Linked DNA regions of Homo sapiens: region 1 is linked to region 2. Evidence: promoter capture Hi-C in human tissues and cell types (Jung and others, 2019). All regions are on one chromosome and are shown on one strand. The core of a region is centred on a gene start or on the middle of the fragment in contact, and the rest is flanking DNA. Distances in the headings are between cores, read along the strand shown. Region 1 has its middle 9.4 kb from the start of CTBP1-DT. Region 2 holds the start of RNF212 (ring finger protein 212).

Region 1 (4,634 bases), core at 1,733-4,232, 140 kb before region 2:
TTCCAGGGACACCGTTGGTGTTCCTCATGTCTGCTGATCCCAGGCCTGTGGCACTTAGGAACCCAACAGTGTGATGCACCTGCCGCAAGGCCTGGCAGGAGTCCAAAGGCCCAGGGTAGGCTCGGGACCCAGAGGATGGGGCAAAGTGGGCAGGACTGGAGCCATCACCCCTAGGTCTAAACCCAAACATTGCCAGACACTAGCTCTGGGGTCCCAGGCCACAAATGGTTACACAGAAGTCCCTGTGCGCCGTCCCCTTGGCTCCTGTACCCTGTATTGTAGCAGCGCTGTCTCACCAGTCTGCTTGGAGTTTGACACGAGTCTAGCCGGGTGAGAAGCGCGTAGGGCAGCGGCGAGCAGTCTGTGCTGTGTTAGCTGGTGGTTCAGCAGAGTTGGACAGTGAGTCTAGCTGGGTGAGAGGCGTGTAGGGCAGCGGCGGGCAGCCTGTGCTGTGTTAGCTGGTGGTTCAGCAGAGTTGGATGCGAGTCTAGCTGGGTGAGAGGCGTGTAGGGCAGCGGCGGGCAGCCTGTGCTGTGTTAGCTCGGGTTTCAGCAGAGTTGGACACGTAGTTGGGTAAGAGGCATGTAGGGCGGGCAGTCTGTGCTGTGTTAGCTCACTGTTCAGCAGAGTTGGATGCGTAGTTGGGTGAGAGGAGTGTAGGGCAGCGGCGGGCAGCAACACAATAAACCAACTAGATCTAACACACATCCAGACATTCTACCAAGAACAATAGCAGCATATACATCCTTCTCAAATAAGCATGAGTCATTTTCCAGGATACACCATCTGTTAGGCCACAAATTAGGTCTCAATCAATTTTAAAATGTAGGTATCATACAAACTCTTCTCCAACCACAATAGGATAACGTTAGAAATCAATAACAGAAGTAAAACTGAAAAATCCACAAATTTCTGGAAGTTAAACAACACACTCTTAAACAACCAACAGTCCAGAGAAGAAATCACAAGGGAAAAAGAAAATACTTAGAATGAAAACGAAAACGCAGCAGACCAGCACTTACAGGATGCTGCAAAAGCAGTGCCACAGGGGAAGTTCATAGTTATAAATGCTTACACTAAAAAACTAGCAAGATCTCAAACCCGCAACCTAACTTTACAACTTAAGGAGCTAGAAAAAGAAGAATAAACTAAACCCAAAGCTAGCAGAAGAAAAGAAATACTGAAGGTTAGAGAAGAGATAAATGAAATAAAGAATTGAAAAACAATAGAGAAAAACCAGTAAAACCAAAAGTTAGTTCTTTGAAAGATCAACAAAATTAACAAGCCTTTCACTAGATGGACTAAGAAAATAGAGGGAAAACTCCAGTTACTAAATCAGAAATGAAAGTGGGCACATTACTACTGACTCTATAGAAATAAAAAAAAATTGTAAGAGAGTACTATGAACAATTGTATGCCAACACATTGGATAACATGGATGAAATAAACAAATTCCTAGAGACACAAAATCTACTGAGAAACAAATCAGGAATAAATAGAAAGTCTTAACAGAATTATAACTAATGTGGAGATTGAATCAGTAATGAAAAATCTGACAAAGAAAAGCCCTGGACTTGATGGCTTCACTGGCAAATTCTCCCAAATATTGGATGAAGAATACCGATTCTTCTCAAACGCTTCAGAAAAACTGAAGGCGAAGGACTACTTCCTAACTATTCTATGAGGCCAACATTATCCTGATGCCAAAGCCAGACGAAGACACTATGAGAAAAGAAAACTGGGCTAAGTGTGGCAAATCACACCTGTAATCCAAGTACTTTGGGAGGCTGAGGCAGGAGGATCACTTGAAACCAGGAGTTCAAGACCAGCCTGGGCAACATATTGAGACCCCATCTCTACAAAAGAATAAAATAGGCTGGTGTGGTGGTGCATGCCTGTAGTCCTAGCTACTTGGGAGGCTAAGGTGGGAAGATCACTTGAGCCCGGGAGTTCCAGGCTGCAATGAGCCATGATCGCACCACTGCACTCCAGCCTAGGCAGCAGAGCAAGACCCTGTCTCTAAAAAAAAAAAAAAAAAAAAATTTAAAGAAAGAAAACTACAGACCAGGGCCAGACACAGTGGCTCATGCCTGCAGCCCCAGCACTGTGGGAGGCTGAGGTGGAAGCTCAGGAGTTCAAGAACAGCCTGGGAAACATGGGGAAGCCCCATCTTTACATAAAATACAAAAATTAGCTGGGCATGGTGGCATGTGCCTGTAGTCCCAGCTACTCAGGAAACTGAGGTAGGAGAATGGCTTGAGCCAGGAGGTATAGGCTGCAGTAAGCCAAGATTGCATTACTGCACTCCAGCCTGGGCAACAGAGCAAGACCCTGTCTCAAACAAAACAAAACAACTACAGAACTAACATCCCTGATGAATATAGATGTGAAAATTCTCAACAAAATACTAGCAAACCTAATTCAGCAGCATATTAAAAAAAGGATTACACACTATGACCAAGTGTGACTTATTCTTGGAGTACTAAGACGGCTCAACTGAAAATGGATCAGTGCAATACACAACATTTCCAGAAGGGGAAAATCTCCCACATAACCATCTGAATTGATGCAGTGGCAGCATTTGACAAAATTCAACACATTTTATGATTTAAAGAAAAACACTTAACAAACTAGGAATAAAAGGAAACTGCCTCAACATTACATAATAAAAGCCATATACGAAAAACCCACAGGAAGGGTGCCTGTTTCCCCACTGCTATTCAGCATAGTACTAAAAGTGCTAGCCAGAACAATTAGGCATGAAAAATAAATGAACTAATAAATGAATTCAGCTAAGTAGCAGGATAAAAAATCAATACATTGTTCATGCTAACTAACAATGAACAGTCCAAAAAGCAAATTATGAAAACAATTCTACTTACAGTAGCAGCAAAAAGAATAAAATAAAATATTTAGGAATCAGCTTAACTGAGGAGGTTAAAGACTTCTGTACTGACAACTACAAAAAAATTGCGGTAAGAAATTAAAGAAGACATAAATAAATAAAGAAGACATCCCATGTTCATGGATTGGAAGATGTCAATAGTACTCAAAGTAATCTACAGATTTAATTCTACCCCATCAAAACCACAAAGCCTTTTTTTCTCAGAAATGGAAAAACCCATCCTAAAACTCATATAGAATCTCAAGGGATCCCAAATAGCAAAAGCAATGTTGAAAGAAAAGAAGAAAGTTAGAGGACTCACACTTCCTGATTTCAATACTTACTACAAAGCTATAGTAATCAATAATTTCATAATCTGGTAAACTCACTATAAAGCTACAGTGATCAAGAATACAGTAATCTACAGTCTGTCGTCATACCAGTGTGGTACCCTGGACCTACATGTCTATCTTTATGCCAGTACCACACTGGCATAGAGACAGACACATAGGTCAATGAAATAGAACACAGAGTTCAGAAATAAACCTTCACATATATGGTCAAATAATCTTTGACAAGGTGCTGAGACCGTCCAGTGGGGAAAATAATAGTCTTTTTGACAAGCGGTGTTGGGAAAACAGGACATTAATTTGCAGAAGAATAAAGCTGGACCTTTTGCCTCACACCATATACAAACTACAAAAACCTAAATGTACAATCTAAAACTGTAAAACTCTAAAAAATAATAATAAGACAAAGCTATACAACTTTGGATTTGGCAATAATTTCTTGGATATGACAACAAAAGCACAGGCAAAAAACAATGTCAACAGAGTAAAGAGGCAACTCACTAGATGGGAGAAAATAGTTGCAAGTTGTGTATGTGATCAGGAATTAGTATCCTTAATATGTAGAAAACTCCTAAAACTCTACAATGAAACAAAAAGCTGATTCAAAAATAGACACATGACTTGAATAGACATTTCTCTAAATAAGTACTCAAATGGGCAATATGTATATAAAAATGCTTGACGTCACCATTCATTAGGCAAATGCATATCTAAACTACAATAAGGCTGGGGAACAGTGGCTCACACCTGTAATCCCAGCACTTGGCGAGGCTAAGGGATTGCTTGAGCCCAGTTCAAGACCAACCTGAGCAACATAGTGAGACCCCCCCACACCACTTCTCTAAAAATAAAATAAAATAAAATAAAATTTAAAATTAGCCAGGCATGGTGGTGTATGCCTGTATTTCCAGCTACTCAGGAGACTGAGTAGGAGGATCACTGGAGCCCAGGAGGTCAAGTCTGCAGTAAGCTATGATTGCACCACTTATACTCCAGCATGGGAAACAGAGTGAGACCCTGTCTCAAAAACAAAAAACAAAACAAAAACCAAACAAAACTGCAATGATATACCACCTAACACCATTAGGTTGGTTACTATATTAATAAAACAAACAAGCAAACAAAAAAACACACAAAAAATCCAGAAAATAACTAGTGTTGGCGAGGATGTGGAGAAACTGGAACCCTTCTGCACTGTTGCTGGGAATGTGAAATGGTACATCCACGATGGAAAACAGTATGGTGCTTCCCCAAAAAATTAAAAATAGAGTTACCCAGCAACTAGATTTCTGCACATATACCCCAAATAATTGAAAGCAGGCTCTCAAAGAGATATTTGTATGCACATGTTCATGGCAGCATTATTCACAATAGCTAAAACATGAAAGCAACCTGTATTA
Region 2 (4,659 bases), core at 135-2,634:
CCCAGGGGCCCACCACCACACCCAGCTAATTTTTGTATTTTTTGTAGAGACGGGGTTTTGCCACGTTGCTGGTCTTGCTATTTTAAACTTGGTAGAGATCAGCACTGTCTAACAGAAATAAAAGTGGGCTACATACATAATTCTAATTTGCTGTTGTTGTTGTTGAGACGAAGTCTCACTCTGTTGCCCAGGCTGGAGTGCAGTGGTGTGATTTCGGCTCACTGCAACCTCCGCCTCGTTCAAGCGATTCTCCTGCCTCAGCCTCCGGAGTAGCTGGGATTACAGGCGTGAGCTACCGCACCCAGCCCATACGTAATTCTAAGTTTTCTAGTCTCCACATTGAAAAGGATTTTTTGAAAGGGTAAAATCAACGCTACTGATATATATTTAACCTAATATATCAAAAATATCATGTTAACATGTAATCAATATAAAATTACTAAGAAGGTTTTCATACGAGGCCCTGGAAACAGCTGTATTTTACTCACATCTTTCGGGGCGCAGGGGTCACTTGGCCCGTAGCTACCGGGAGCGCTCACCCTGCGCTCTCCCGGCACAAGCACTTGCCTGAGCCTCTCGATCCGAGCTTTGCAGCGTCCCAGCGGGTGGAAACTCTCAAAACCACGCAGAGGACAATTTTATAAAAAGTCACTTCCCCATGCTGGAACCTGGAAGCAGCAGAGGTCCTTCCCGAGCTACGCCTTCCGTTTCAGAGGGAAGCAGGCTCAGGCCTCCCGTGCTGAGGTCTCTGCGCCAGCGGCCACCTGGACACTAGTCCCAAAGCGTGCAGCGCGGCCTGGCCCCCACCCCCAACTGCCCCCCCCACCCCCACCGCCTCATCACACCCCACCCCCACCGCCTCACGCCCCCACACCCACCCCAACTCCCACATCCCCACTCCCGCTCCCACCCCAACTCCCACACCCACTTATCCCTCCCTCCCTCCTATCCCGCTCCCCGGGCCCCCAGGGCCCCCACGCCCACTCTCCCCTACTCCTCCCCTGCCTCGCCCAGCGCACTACCCTGGCCGCCCTGGCCTCCGGCCCAGCTCCCGGCCCTCAAGGTGGGCCTGGCCCGCATCCCCCGCCCTCGGCGCTCCCCCTCCCCCTCCCCCACTGCTGTCGCGCCGCGACGCCTCCTCAGCGCAGCCGCCATTCCCCGCGCCCGCCACCCAGGCCCGGCTTCCACAAAACACCTGAGGACCGCCAAGACAGGGGCGGGACGTTGGTGCTCGCGGTGCGTTCCTCCGCCTACTCCAGCCCAAACGACCTGGGAGACGAGTCACACGCGCCCTCCCAGGTGCTGCGGGAGAACCCGCGAGGTTGGCGGGAGGGCGCGAGCTCCAGTGCGCGGGCGCAGGGCTGCCGTCGACTTTGCGCAGGCGCAGAGCTGCCCGCCTTCGGGCCCTGCGCGGGGAGGCTGGTCCCAACCTTGCGTGGGCTTCGCGTGGGCCCGGCCTCGCCGCTGCGGTCGCCCGCCTGGCATGGCCAACTGGGTGTTCTGTAATCGCTGCTTCCAGCCGCCCCACAGGACGTCGTGCTTCAGCCTCACCAACTGCGGGCACGTGTACTGCGACGCCTGCCTCGGCAAAGGTCAGGGCTTCCCGAACGCAGGCTGGAGAGGGGAGGGGAGCGGCAAGGGGGTCAGGGAACTCCGGGGGATGGGGGACTTGGGTGGGAGGGCCATGGGGGCACGTGGGGGGCTGCGGAGGAGAGAGGGCGCGTGGAGAAGGGGGAGGGGGCAGGGGGAGGGGGATGCCAGGGGAGAGGCCGCGAGGAGCAGGGGAACTCTGAGGGGAGGGGGACCTGGGGTGGAGGGGCCGCGGGGGCGCGTGGGGGGCCGAGGGGGAGAAACGGCGCATGGAGCGGGGGGGGCATGGGGGGGTGAGAGGCCGCGGAGGTAGGGGTATTCGGAGGAGGGGCCACCGGGGAGTGGGGGCCGCGGGCGTGATGAGGGGCCCGTGGGGAGAGGGGGACACTGGAGAAGCGGTGGGGAGGGAGCGGGGGAGTGAGGGGCTGCGGGAGGGTGGGGAAAGAGGGGACGCCGGAGGTGGTGGGGGGCTGCAGGGAGGAAGGGGACGCCAGAGGAGGGGGGCAAGGTGGGGGATGTGGGGGGTCAAGGCTTGGGGGGGAAGGGGGATACCGAGGAGATGGGGGGAGGGGAGACGCCAGGGGAGGAGGGCGTGGGGGAGGGTCCGCAGGCAGGAAGGGGCCGTGGAGGGGAGGGGCCGCCGGGGGGAGCGGGATGCAAGATGAGGGGGACACAGGGGTCGGGCCACGAGTCCTGTCAGTCGGGGGCTCTGGCTTGCAGGCTGCGGGTCCGCCTGGAGGACCTGGGGGAGAAGCGGGCAGGCGGCAACCTTAACGCCAGTGGAGGACTCTGGCCCTATTCCATGGGCAGCGCGGGGCCCTGGTGTCAAGTGGACAGTCGCATTGTCAGGGAGGCGTTTTTCTTTCTGTGAAAATTTTGTGTTGAACTGATGTTTATGCAAGAACAAAAGCAAAAACACAGTGAGCTTTTACCAAGCGAACTTCCCCGTGAAAGCAGCCAGCTGGGTGCCGGTGGCTCACAGCCCTCCAGCCCCAGGGGACGCCAGCTGTGCTGACCTCCATCCTCGGAGTTGGCCTTAGACCCATGGAGCCTTAGTGAATGCAGCCCTACAACCAGCCCTACAGCAAAGCCGCTTTCTGTGGCTCCCCATCTTTCTTCCTTTTTCTCCCTTCCTTCTCTTTGCCTCTTTCAAGGCAGAGCTCAGCTTTGTCGCCCAGGCTGGAGTTCGGTGGCGGGATCTCGGTTTACTGCAGCCTCCGCCTCCCAGGCTCAAGTGATTCTCCTACCTCAGCCTCCAGGGTAGCGGGGCTACAGGCATGTGCAGCCACGCACCCCTGATTTTTTTAATTTTTCACAGAGATGGGGTCCCTTTGTTGCCCAGGATGGTCTCCAATTCCTGTCCTCTAACAATCACCGGCCTTGGCCTCCCGAAATGTGGGATTAGCAAAGTTTATCATTGTATTTGTATGTAACTGTAGTTCATCTACTTTCATTGTTGTGTGGTGTTCCATTGTATGGATACACCCCAAGTTACTCATCGTTTCCACTGTCCATGGCCCTTTGGGTTGTTTGCAGATTTGGCTGCAGAAATAATGCTACTGTGAATCTTCTTGCTCCTGTCTTCGGTGATCTTAGGTACACATTTCTGTTGGGTGTGTAACCTGGGAGTGGAGTTGTTGATTTCAGGTGTGTATTTAAAAACAAAAGTGTCTCGGGCAGCGAGGTGAAAAGTAGATTGGAGGGAGATAGAAACTGTGGGAGAGACTGCAGCTGAGCACATGAGAGGTGATGGGGAGAAGTGATAGGTTCAGGAGAAGTTAGGTAGATTCAGCAGACATGAGTCGGAGACAAGGGCTAGAGAACTGGACAGGGTTTCACTGCTAGACAAAACACTGGAGAGGAGCCCAGCGGGAGGGAACCCAGCAGGGTGGGGCACAGCAGGGTGGGGTGCAGGGCCCCTGAGCTCATGTCTGGACACGGCCTGTATCCTGTGAGAGCCATCCAGGGGAAGACAAGAGGCAGTTGCACATGTGGGTCTGGAACTCAAGACAGCCAGGAACACATTTGGGGAGCGATTAATACGGGATAATAATCCTATAATCCTAGATATTGGAGTGTGGAGAGCCCCAAAGGTGAAGGAAACTAGAAGAGACTATCTTGTTGGAAAGAGCATTTGTTGAAGGAGGTAAAGAAGATGTCAGGTAAAAAAGAGATGTTGATGAACTGGACATCCCAGTGAAGTCAAGGAATTGGTGTTTGAAAGTGTCCATTGGACCAGTGAGGAGGGCACTGGTGACCCAAGATAATGTTCCCCGAAGATAACATTGTTAGGAATGATGGAGACGCGTGTGCCTTCGTGGTGCTGGGAAGTGTGAAGACAGGGCTCAGAGCGTCATAGCTTTTGAGGTCAGCATACTCTGCGTTGGCAGGTGACTGGTTAAGGGCCTGGGGCAGGTATAGATTCACAGGTTTGCCTAGCTCTTAAAGCCTGAGGTCAACACAGATTCCAGTAGTCTGAGTGCATTCCTCCAAAAAGCCACAGATGCTGCATGTCGGGACCACACCAAATCCAAAGACACACAAAAAAGTGGTGAAAAGGGGTGGAGGCTCTGGGCAGAGCCTTGACTGTAGCTCTGTAGCTGTCCAGTGGTGTGTCACTCAGAGGGAAGCCCTTGTTTAGCTCTGGTGTATATCCTTCCAAGCATTTCCTATAGATGCAGATTTTTAAAACAAAAGCAATAGTGTGTCTACCATTCAGTAATCTGCTTTTATTACTTACTCAAACATAGACCTCCTTCCGTGTTAAAATAAGTCTGTATCATCATTCTTAAGGTTGCATGATACATCTTTTGGCTATCATACCATAACATAGTTTCTGCCGTTTTGCTATGAGACACCACTTGTTCTCTTACTTGATTTTTTTCCTTGGAATATATTCTTCGGGGTGGAGTGGCTAGGCTGCGGATGTGCACATGAAAACTGACCCAAATGCGACCCAAACAGGCACAAAGGAAGTGCCTGTTTCTATTCCCTGTAGTGACACGTGAGCACCTGTTGTTTTCTCCTCTTTGGTGTCTCTTACTAGTGACCTTGACCTTCATTTTGTGT

The links. The method cuts DNA at HindIII sites, captures the fragments that hold promoters and counts their contacts. A contact is called where the count stands out against the background at its distance.
Region 1: a contact is called between a fragment that was not itself captured here and the fragment with the promoter of RNF212 in region 2, in 1 of the 25 tissues and cell types used here (IMR-90 fibroblasts).

What each region holds. Positions count from the first base shown.
Region 1 is chr4:1,256,536-1,261,169 of GRCh38, reverse strand. No RefSeq gene overlaps it. Among named protein-coding and RNA genes, the nearest start is that of CTBP1-DT, 9.4 kb to the right of the region's middle. The HindIII fragment of the contact is 7,601 bases long and covers 1-4,634 here.
Region 2 is chr4:1,110,289-1,114,947 of GRCh38, reverse strand. RNF212 (ring finger protein 212) reads left to right here and starts at 1,384. Exons shown (of 10, transcript NM_001131034.4): 1 at 1,384-1,592. The coding sequence starts at 1,484. LOC124900647 (nascent polypeptide-associated complex subunit alpha, muscle-specific form-like) reads right to left here and starts at 1,309. Exons shown (of 3, transcript XM_047416477.1): 1 at 1,196-1,309. It overlaps LOC105374344 (a long non-coding RNA gene), which reads right to left and starts at 1,309. Exons shown (of 3, transcript NR_134676.1): 1 at 1,196-1,309. The HindIII fragment of the contact is 9,480 bases long and covers 1-4,659 here.